Linked DNA regions of Homo sapiens: regions 2 and 3 are each linked to region 1. The links are contacts of gene promoters, found by promoter capture Hi-C in blood cells and fetal thymus (Javierre and others, 2016). All regions are on one chromosome and are shown on one strand. The core of a region is centred on a gene start or on the middle of the fragment in contact, and the rest is flanking DNA. Distances in the headings are between cores, read along the strand shown. Region 1 holds the start of UQCC3 (ubiquinol-cytochrome c reductase complex assembly factor 3). Region 2 overlaps SLC3A2 (solute carrier family 3 member 2). Region 3 has its middle 11 kb from the start of SCGB1A1.

Region 1 (3,708 bases), core at 26-2,525:
CTTTGGCAGGAGCTGTTTTAATTGCTTTACATATAACTAATTTAATTATCCTAAAACTGTGAGACAAGTACTGTTGTTATAAGCTTCATTTTCTGATGCAGAAACCGGGGCACAAGAACTTGCCTATAATCAGTCACACAGCTAAGAGGTGTTTTCTTCTGTAAAGCAGAATTCAGTATGTTACACGAATCCAGCCTTTTAGTGGTTGAAAACAAAGCAAAACAGCCGGGCGCGGTGGCTCACACCTGTAATCCCAGCACTTTGGGAGGCCGAGGTGGGCGGATTGGGCGGATCACGAGGTCAGGAGTTCGAGACCAGCCTGACCTACATAGTGAAACTCTTTCTCTACTAAAAATACAAAAAATTAGCCGGCCGTGGTGGCGGGCGCCTGTAGTCCCAGCTACTCGGGAGGCTGAGGCAGGAGAATGGCGTGAACCCGGGAGGCAGAGCTTGCAGTGAGCCGAGATCACGCCACTGCACTCCAGCTGGGCAACAGAGTGAGACTCTGTCTCAAAAAGCAAAAAAGAAAACGAAGCAAAACAAAAAGCAATACCAGCCGGGCGTGGTGGTGCACGCCTGTAATCCCAGCTATCCGGGAGGTTGAGGCAGGAGGATCGCTTGGGCCCTGGAAGTCGAGGCTTCAGTGAGCCATGATCGCGCCACTGCACTCCAGCCCTGGGCGACAGAGCGAGACCTTGTCTCCAAAAACAAACAAAACCACGCCCACACACTAACAACAACAACAAAACCAAAAAAAAACCCAAACAATACCAAGTGTGTACCATGACGAGAAAAGGAATAGGTTGTTTGTAAAATAAATGTTAAAGATAAGTAACTATTACCCATTTCTCCAACCAGTATACTTGACTTTGAGTGTTTGTTCCAGAGTTGAGGGGATGGAGAGGGATGTGTATGTGTGTAGATGCCCTCCATGCGCTGTGTTGAAAACGCGCGGGTGACTGCAGGAAACCACAGAGCACAGCTCGGGCCTCTACTGATCGGGAAACGTCGGAAGACAGAAAAATGGGCAATCATAAAACCCACGGCAACCATGAAGACACGCACTCTCCCCCTAGCAATCCCACCCCGGAATTGAGGACACAGGGTCCCCGCGCTCAGCCCTTGGTGCCAGCACTTCTTGGACACCTCAACCCCCTCAGCTAAACCTGAGATCCAAGCGCTCCGGATTCCAAACGTTTCCTCGAGCAGGTCCTCTCTAGCCGGCCGCTTATCTATGGTTTCTGCTATAGGGCGCTCTAGCCTGCGCCAAGGGGTAGTGAGACCGCGCGGCAACAGCTTGCGGCTGCGGGGAGCTCCCGTGGGCGCTCCGCTGGCTGTGCAGGCGGCCATGGATTCCTTGCGGAAAATGCTGATCTCAGTCGCAATGCTGGGCGCAGGGGCTGGCGTGGGCTACGCGCTCCTCGTTATCGTGACCCCGGGAGAGCGGCGGAAGCAGGAAATGCTAAAGGTAGAAGCAACTGGTAGTCCCGAGGAAGGGTGGGCGGGTGGAGAGCCCCGGACTGGAGCTCCTGCGAACTCCCCTTCCTGCCCTCAGGAGATGCCACTGCAGGACCCAAGGAGCAGGGAGGAGGCGGCCAGGACCCAGCAGCTATTGCTGGCCACTCTGCAGGAGGCAGCGACCACGCAGGAGAACGTGGCCTGGAGGAAGAACTGGATGGTTGGCGGCGAAGGCGGCGCCGGCGGGAGGTCACCGTGAGACCGGACTTGCCTCCGTGGGCGCCGGACCTTGGCTTGGGCGCAGGAATCCGAGGCAGCCTTTCTCCTTCGTGGGCCCAGCGGAGAGTCCGGACCGAGATACCATGCCAGGACTCTCCGGGGTCCTGTGAGCTGCCGTCGGGTGAGCACGTTTCCCCCAAACCCTGGACTGACTGCTTTAAGGTCCGCAAGGCGGGCCAGGGCCGAGACGCGAGTCGGATGTGGTGAACTGAAAGAACCAATAAAATCATGTTCCTCCACCCAGAATGAGCCCTGCAGTCGACACCTACCAATGCTTAGAGACGCGTGGTCGGTGCTGGGGGCGCGGCCTGGAGCTGCTGCCTGTCCCACCCCACCAGAAGAGGCTGATCCCGATAGGTATCTGACCACATTTTTTTTTTTTTTTTTTTTTTGAGACGGAGTCAATGTCACCCAGGCTGGAGTGCAGTGGCACGATCTCGGCTCACTGCAACCTCCGCCCCTGGGTTCCAGCAATTCTCCTGCCTCAGCTTCCCGAGTAGCCGGGATCACAAGTGCGCGCCACCAAGCCCAGCTAACTTTTGTGTTTTTAGTTGAGACAGGGTTCACCATGTTGGCTAGACTGGTCTCGAACTCCAGACCCAGGTGATCCGCCCGCCTCGGCCTCCCAAAGGGCTGGGATTACAGGCGTGAACCACCTCGCCCTGCCGCGGCCACATTTTTTCTTTTTTTTGAGATGGAGTCTTGCTCTTGTCACCCAGGCAGGAGTGCAGTGGCGCAATCTTGGCTCACTGCAACCTCTGCCTCCTGGGTTCAAGCTGTTCTCCTTACTCAGCCTCCCATGTAGCTGGGATTACAGGCGTCCGCAACCACGCCCGGCTGATATTAGTAGTTTTAGTAGAGGCGGGTTTCACCATGTGGCCAGGCTGATCTCGAACTCCTGACCTCAGGCAGTTCACCCGTCTCAGCCTCCCAAAGTGCTGGGATTAGAGGCGTGAGCCACTGCGCCCGGCCAACCACATTTTCAAAACAGGTCATGTGGTGTCAGGTTGGAGTGTACTTCCAGGGATAACCGTGGGACATTCTTGAAATCTGAACTATCCTGGGAAGTCTTGAAGTAATGGATGCCTATAGTGGACACTCAGGACTCCTGTCCTTGGAGCGAGATTGGAGGGGCATCTAGCACTTAACATATGCCACAATGCTTTCTGTGGCCATTATTTAACCTCTGGTTAAACAAGCTTAGGAGGCTGACTTACTAGTAGTAAAAGGAGTGTGCTTTGAGTCACAGATCCTGGTTGAACTCCAGCATGTTACAAACCTCAGCCCTGTTCTATGAAAGGTCATAACTACGAGGATTATTGTAAAACATTAATTTAGAAATGTAAAGTGGTCCCCAATCTCTGGATCTGGTCAGGATTTATTGGAGCTGCCACTGAGGGGATTAAATAAGTGGGGTCAAAGCCCCACAGCCTAGTCAACCAAGTTGCTCCTCTTTTGTCTATCCTGTGGTTCCCAAGCAAGACTGCAATTGAAAAAAAGGCTGCTGTTATTAAAGTCAGAACACCAAATAAAGCTTTTTTTTTTTTTTTGAGACAGAATTTCTGTGTTGTTGCCCACGCTGGAGTGCAATGGAGCGATCTCAACTCAATGCAACCTCCGCCTCCTGGGTTCAAGCGATTCTCCTGCCTCAGCCTCTCCAGTAGCTGGGACTACAGGGGTGCGCCACTATGCCAGGATAATCTTTGTATTTTTAGTAGATACAGGGTTTCACCATGTTGGCCAGGCTGGTCTTGAACTCCTGACCTCAGGTGATCTGCCCGCCTCAACCTCCCAAAGTGCTGGGATTACAAGCATGACCCGCCGTGCCTGGCCCAAATAAAGCTTTCTAACACTGGGGTGTAAACCCAGATATAAGTATTGGTGCTCTTTTCAGCTGCTGGAACACATGTTACATGTGATCTTTACAGAGTAACTGTGGCCTTTCTCCTAGTCCAGGAAGGAGTGGAGTCA
Region 2 (3,241 bases), core at 742-3,241, 220 kb after region 1:
CCTACTCGAATCCAACAAAGACTTGCTGTTGACTAGCTCATACCTGTCTGATTCTGGTTCTACTGGGGAGCATACAAAATCCCTAGTCACACAGTATTTGAATGCCACTGGCAATCGCTGGTGCAGCTGGAGTGTGAGTACCATGCTGGTGGGAAAGGGGGCAGATGGGAGAAGAAAGGGTTGTTGGGAGACAGAGGCAGAGGTGGGTTATGGGGCTCACTGGAGTGTCTCTCCCTGTAGTTGTCTCAGGCAAGGCTCCTGACTTCCTTCTTGCCGGCTCAACTTCTCCGACTCTACCAGCTGATGCTCTTCACCCTGCCAGGGACCCCTGTTTTCAGCTACGGGGATGAGATTGGCCTGGATGCAGCTGCCCTTCCTGGACAGGTACTGCTTGCTGTCTTTCTGTCACAGGGAGGTTGTTTATCCATCTTACAATGATGATTCTGGGGATGGCGGCACATAGACGTGAGCCTTGGGGTGAAAACGCGTTTGATTCTTAGTCAGTAGCTGAGTGGCTATGTGGCTTTGGGCAAATTATTTTACCTTTCTGAATTTTGGTCATCCCTTGTGTTACTGCATTTCTTGAAGGGTGGTTAGTATTAAATGAGGGCATGTTTTTAATGGTAATGCCTGGTACCTGGCAGATGTTTGCTATGGTAGCCACCATTCATTTATTCATTCCTTTATTCTTTGGACAGTGGGTACTGTGCTAGGCTCTGTGCCCTCAGGAGCTCATAGTTTAGTGAGGGAGCCAGATAAATAAGTGGAGAAGTACATGGCAGTGGCTGGGCACGGTGGCTCATGCCTGTAATCCTAGCACTTTGGGAGTCCAAGGTGGGTGGATCACTGGAGGTAAGGAGTTCGAAACCAGCCTAGCCAACAGGGTGAAACCCAGTCTCTACTAAAAATACAAAAATTAGCCAGGTGTGGTGGTGCACGCCTGTAGTCCCAGCTACTGGGGAGGCTGAGGCAAGAGAATCGCTTGAACCTGGAGGCAGAGGTTGCAGTGAACTGAGATTGTGCCACTGCACTTTAGCCTGGGCGGCAGAGGGAGACTCCTTCTCCAAAAAAAAAAAGAAAAGAAAAGAAAGAAAGAAATACATGGTAGGGATACTACTACAAAGGCATTCACTAGCTTTAGATACAGGGTTACTGTTGATCCCCGACTTTTTTTTTTTGTTTGTTTGTTTGTTTTTTGTTTTTGTTTTTAAGACAGCATTTCCCTATGTCGCCCAGGCTGGAGTGCAGTGGCATGATCTTGGTTCATTGCAGCCTCCGCCTCCCAGGCCGAAGTGATCATCCCACCTCAGCCTCCTGAGTAGCTGGGATATGTACCATAGATAGGTGCGTGCCATCATGCCCAGCTGATCTTTTTTTTTTTTGGAGACAGGTTCTTGCTCTGTTGATCTGGCTGGATTGCAGTGGTGCGATTATGTCTCACTGCAACCTCTGCCTCTTGGGTTCAAGTGATACTCCTGCCTCAGCTTCCCAAGTAGCTGGGAATACAGGTGGTCTGGGAATACAGGCACACACCACCATGCCCGGCTAATTTTTGTAGAGACAGGCTTTCACTGTTGTTGCCCAGGCTGGTCTCCAACTCCTGGGCTCAATCGCTCTGCCTGCCCTGATCTCCCAAATTGCTGGGACTACAGGTGTGAGCCACTGTGCCTGGCCACAGCTAATTTTTAAAATTTGTAGAGGTGTGGTCTCACTATGTTGCCCAGGCTGTTCTCAAACTCCTGGGTGCAAATGATCCTCCCACCTTGGCCTCCCAAACTGCTATGATTACAGGTGCGAGCCACTGCACCCGGCCATCAGCATGATGTTTATAGAACCAGTTATTCATTTATTCCACAGATGTTTATAGAATAATTTCTGTCTGTTACACTGAGGATACAGCATTGCACAAGAGAGCTGGAGGTGGTTAGATAATTAGATATGCATAAATAAAACGCCAGCTGCTGATCAGTGCTATGCAAAAGAAGGCGGGGTAAGGAGCCTAGAGACTAGGGGATGATGGGGCTTGTTTTATAGAGAGTAGCCATAGGAGACCTGGTAAGATAACCAAGCAGATACCTGAGGGAAGTGAGAGAGCTGGCTGGCAGCCATCTGGGAGCTCTTGGCTGAGGGGCAACAGTGTATGTGTGAGGACCCTGAGGTGGGAGCCTGCCTCACTCATCCAGTAGAAGTTAGCCAGGCCGGGTGTCGTGGCTTATGCCTGTAATCCCAGCACTTTGGGAGGCCAAGGTGGGTGGATCACCTGAGGTCAAGAGTTCGAGACCAGCCTAGCCAACATGGTGAAACCCCGTCTTTACTAAAAATACAAAAAAATTAGCTGGGTGTGGTGGTGCACACCTATGGTCAGCTACTGGGGAGGCTGAGGCAGGAGAATCGCTTGAACCCAGGAGGCAGAGATTGCAGTAAGCCAAGATCGTGCCATTGCACTCCAGCCTGAACAGAGCGAGACTCCGTCTCAAAAAAAAAAAAAAAAAAAAGTTAGCCAGACATGAGTTGGGGAGGTTATATATTGATGAGGATGTGAATGGGAAGAGGGATACGGGACAGTGGGCCCAGGGCTTTTTTTTTGAGACAGGGTCTCACTCTGTTGCCCAGGCTGGAGTACAGTGGTGGAGTCATGGCTCACTGCAAGCTCAAACTCCTGGGTTCAAGTGATCCTCCCTCCTCAGCCTCCCCAGTATCTGGGACTATAGGGATGTAACACTACACCCAGCTAATTTTTAAAAATTTTGTAGTAGAGATGAGGGCTCATTATGTTGCTGAGGCTGGTTTCAAATGCCTGGGCTCAAGCAATCCTCTTGGCCTTGACCTCCCAGACTGCTGGAATTACAGATGTGAGCCACCATGCCTGACCCCAGGCCTTTTTAAAGTCCTATTTTCTCTGCTTTTCAGCCTATGGAGGCTCCAGTCATGCTGTGGGATGAGTCCAGCTTCCCTGACATCCCAGGGGCTGTAAGTGCCAACATGACTGTGAAGGTAAGAGTTCTAGATGGGTAGAAACTGACCGGTGGAGGGTGGGCTGGGCTTGTAGAAGTCTGTACCCAGGGGAGCCCCTCACACGCTTCTGCTATGTTTTTATCATTCTTAGGGCCAGAGTGAAGACCCTGGCTCCCTCCTTTCCTTGTTCCGGCGGCTGAGTGACCAGCGGAGTAAGGAGCGCTCCCTACTGCATGGGGACTTCCACGCGTTCTCCGCTGGGCCTGGACTCTTCTCCTATATCCGC
Region 3 (3,657 bases), core at 1,054-3,553, 240 kb before region 1:
TTTCAGAATACACCAACAGGCACATGGGGATAATGTGAGGATGAATCATCAGTAGTTAGCCACCCAACATATTTCCATGAGCAAACTAAAATTATAAAACTATAGTACATGCAAAAAAATCTGAAAATAGACTGGGCACGGTGGCTCACGCCTATAATCTCAGCACTTTGGGAGGCCGAAGCAGGCGGATCACCTGAGGTCGGGAGTTCGAGACCAGCCTGACCAACATGGAGAAACCCTGTCTCTACTAAAAATACAAAATTAGCCAGGCATGGCGGTGGGTGCCTGAAATCCCAGCTACTCGGGAGGCTGAGGCAGGAGAATCGCTTGAACCTGGGAGGCAGAAGTTGCAGTGAGCCAAGATCGCACCATTGCACTCCAGCCTGGGCAACAAGAGCAAAACTCTGTCCCCAAAAAAAAAAAAATCTGAAAATACATTTAGCTAAGCTAGCATGGGAATTGATTGCCAGCTTGGGAATTGATAAACCGGGGGTTTGGAACTCAGATTTGTTACCCCATCAAGTGAATGGATTCCCAGCTAATCACAAGAGTCTAGTTAACTCTGAAAATACCTGCAGTTATATGCCCATAGCTGTAACTGCCCGGTGGGTTCACCTTGCTCGCTGCCTGGACGGAGCCAATTTATCAAGACAGGGGAATTGCAGTGGAGAAGGAGTAATTCACACAGAGCTGGTGTGTGGGAGACTGGGTTTTATTATTACTCCAAACAGTCTCCCTGAGCATTCGGGGATCGGGGTTTTTAAAGATAATTTGGCGGGTAAGGGCTTGGGAAGCAGGGAGTGCTGATTGGTCAGGCTGGAGATGGAATCCTAGGGGGTGGAAGTGTGGTTTTCTTGCTGTCTTCTGTTCCTGGGGAGGATGGCAGAAATGGTTGAGCCAGATTACCAGTCTGGGTTGTGTCAGCTGATCCATCGAATGCAGGGTCTGCAAACTATCTCAAGCACTGATCTTAGGTTTTACAATAGTGATGTTATCTGCAGGAGCAATCTGGGGAGGCTCAGACTCTTGGAGCCAGAGGCTGCATGACCGCTAAACTAAATTTCTAATCTTGTAGCTAATTTGTTAGTCTTGCAAAGGCAGACTGGTCCACAGGCAAGAATGGGGTTTTTTTTAGGGAAATGGCTATTATCAATTTTGTTTCAGAGTCAAAACATGAACTGAATTCCTTCCCAAAGTTAGTTCAGGCCTATGCCCAGGAATGAACAAGGACAGCTTAAAGGTTAGAAGGAAGATGGAGTCGGTTAGGTCTGATCTCTTTCACTGTCATAATTTCCTCAGTTGTAATTTTTGCAAAGGCGGTTTCACAGCCACCCTGTGTGTGTAACCACGAGGCAGATACCTACAGAGCTTCCTTTAGAGTTCCCTCTTAGGGCTGGGTGCAGTGGCTCAAGCCACTGTGGGAGGCTGAGGCAGGCGGATCACCTGAGGTCAGGAGTTCGAGACCAGCCTGGCCAACATGGCAAAACCCCATCTCTACTAGTAATACAAAAATTACCCGGGCATGATGGCGCATGCCTGTAGTCCCCGCTACAGCTGAGGCAAGAGAATCACTTGAACCCAGGAGGCAGAAGTTGCAGTGGCAGAGGTTGCAGAGGCGGAAGTTGTAGTGAGCCGAGGTTGCAGTAAGCCGAGATCACACCACTGCACTCCAGCCTGGGTGACAGAATGAGACTCCATCTCAAAAATAAAAATGAAAAAGAATTCCCTGTTAGGCCCCTGTCACAAAAGTAGGTACTAATCAGCCCTGGGACAGGATAGAGACTTGATCAGAGGCTCCCTGGGAGCTGTGGAAGGAGGAGCAGGCCTTGGGGCATCAGGAGAGGAGAAAGGGTTGCTGGGCTGGGGGATCTCCTGACCTCCTGACCTTAGGCGTCCAGTCGGTCTCTGAGTCCATCTCAACTTACATGGAATTGATCCCTTTATTTTTTTTTATTTATTTATTTTTGAGATAGGGTCTCACTCTGTCACCCAGGCTGGAGTGCAAGGTTGCAATCACTGCTCACTGCAACCTCCGCCTCCCAGGCTCAAGCAATCCTCCTCCCTCAGCCTCCTGAGTAGCTGGGATGACAGGCGCACACCACCATGCCCAGCTAATTTTTGTATTTTTTTTCATAGATACGGGTTTTCGCCATGTTGGCCAGGCTGGTCTCAAACTCCTGGACTCAAATGATCTGCCAGCCTCTGCCTCCCAAAGTGTTGGGATTACAGGCGTGAGCCACCGTGCCCAGCCCTTATCCCCTTCTCTTGACCCTATTGCCAATTCCAAGCCTTCACCATCTGTGACCTGGATCATTGCAAACAGCCTCTACATTAGTTTCTATGGCTGCTGTAACAACTTACCACAGACTTAATAACTTAAAAACACACAAATTTATGATCTTCTCGTTCTGGAGGCCAGATGTCTGAAATGCATTTCACTGGGCTAAAAACCAAGGTGTTGGCAGGCTGCATTCTTTCTGGAGTCTCCAGGGGAGAATCTGTCTCCTTGTTTTTTCCATTTTCTAAAGGCCACCCGCATTACTTGGCTCATGGCCCCTTCCCCATCTTCAAAGTCAGCAGGGCAGCCTCTGCAATTCTCTCTCCGACACTGATCTCCTCTTCTGCCTCCCACTTCCATTCATAAGGATCTCTGTGATTACACTGGGCCCATCAGATACTCCAAAACAACCTCCCCTCTCACGGTCAGCTGATGAGAAACCTTCATCCATGTGCAACCCTAATTCTCTCTTGCCAGGTAACCTAACACATGCACAGGGTCTGGGGATTAGGACGTGGAGATCCTTGAGGGGCCGTTAATCTGCCTCCTAAATAGTCTCTAAGATTTTAGTCTTACTTCCTTCCCATGATTGCCAAAAATCAAACAGGAAGTTCATGCTTTTGCTTAAAATCCTTCCCTCTTCCTGGTCCCCTGTTGGATAAAGTCCAAACCCCTCACCCATCATCAAAGGCTCCTGGAGATGGTGGCCCTGCTTCCCACTGTGGCCTCAAATCCTGCTGCTTCCCACCTACCCTTCACTTTGAGGGTGCAGCAGTGGATGATGCTCGGAAATAAAACTGCCCTCTGAGTAAGGCTTGTCGATTCATGTCGAGGCACAGACGTTCACATTTGAAACAGGCAACAAATCCATGCCATTCACACTTCCACACTTTTGCAGAAACAGTTCCCGCTAACTGAAATGCTTTCCCTTCCCAAAGTCCCTGGAAGAACCAAACTCCATCCTTCATGACTCACTTGGGACATGCTTATACTAAAAATTGTTTCATTATTTATCTAAAATGCACACTTAACGGGCATACTGTATTTCATTTGCTAAGTCTGGCCCCCTTCAGATTCTTTCACGACTTAGTCTGTGGGCTCTTTCTCCCTGTTCTCCCTACCCAGCACTTTGTGCCCTGAGGTTCAGGGGCTCTTTCTGCTGCTGAGCTTCCACGCCCCTAATCTGGGGCATGTATTTACAGTGGGATAAATCATGTATTTATCTTACTATAGCATGTTTGCTTCTAACTGTTGCCTTCTCTAGAATGTGAGTCCTATGAAGGCATGATTCACATTTTAGTTATCTTGCCACTCATTGTAGAAAAATTAGAAAACCCAAGAAAGCAAAAGGAAAATAAATCATTCGAATGTACATCTGC

What was found. The method cuts DNA at HindIII sites, captures the fragments that hold promoters and counts their contacts. A CHiCAGO score of 5 or more calls a contact.
Region 2: a contact is called between a fragment that was not itself captured here and the fragment with the promoter of UQCC3 in region 1, in 3 of 17 cell types (naive CD4 T cells, naive B cells and naive CD8 T cells). The highest score is 5.2, in naive CD4 T cells.
Region 3: a contact is called between a fragment that was not itself captured here and the fragment with the promoter of UQCC3 in region 1, in 7 of 17 cell types (naive B cells, total B cells, total CD8 T cells and 4 more). The highest score is 11.6, in naive B cells.

What each region holds. Positions count from the first base shown.
Region 1 is chr11:62,670,398-62,674,105 of GRCh38, forward strand. UQCC3 (ubiquinol-cytochrome c reductase complex assembly factor 3) reads left to right here and starts at 1,276. Exons shown (of 2, transcript NM_001085372.3): 1 at 1,276-1,468; 2 at 1,556-3,289. The coding sequence starts at 1,349. The coding sequence ends at 1,717. LBHD1 (LBH domain containing 1) reads right to left here and starts at 1,870. Exons shown (of 7, transcript NM_024099.5): 1 at 1,167-1,870. RefSeq lists enhancers at 1-701, 702-1,441, 1,442-2,183, 1,550-1,709 and a silencer at 1,950-2,079. The HindIII fragment of the contact is 2,853 bases long and covers 82-2,934 here.
Region 2 is chr11:62,885,225-62,888,465 of GRCh38, forward strand. SLC3A2 (solute carrier family 3 member 2) reads left to right here. Exons shown (of 9, transcript NM_001013251.3): 6 at 1-133; 7 at 241-384; 8 at 2,911-2,994; 9 at 3,107-3,241. Among named protein-coding and RNA genes, the nearest start is that of SLC3A2, 5.9 kb to the left of the region's middle. The HindIII fragment of the contact is 5,324 bases long and covers 1-3,241 here.
Region 3 is chr11:62,428,131-62,431,787 of GRCh38, forward strand. No RefSeq gene overlaps it. Among named protein-coding and RNA genes, the nearest start is that of SCGB1A1, 11 kb to the left of the region's middle. The HindIII fragment of the contact is 7,397 bases long and covers 1-3,657 here.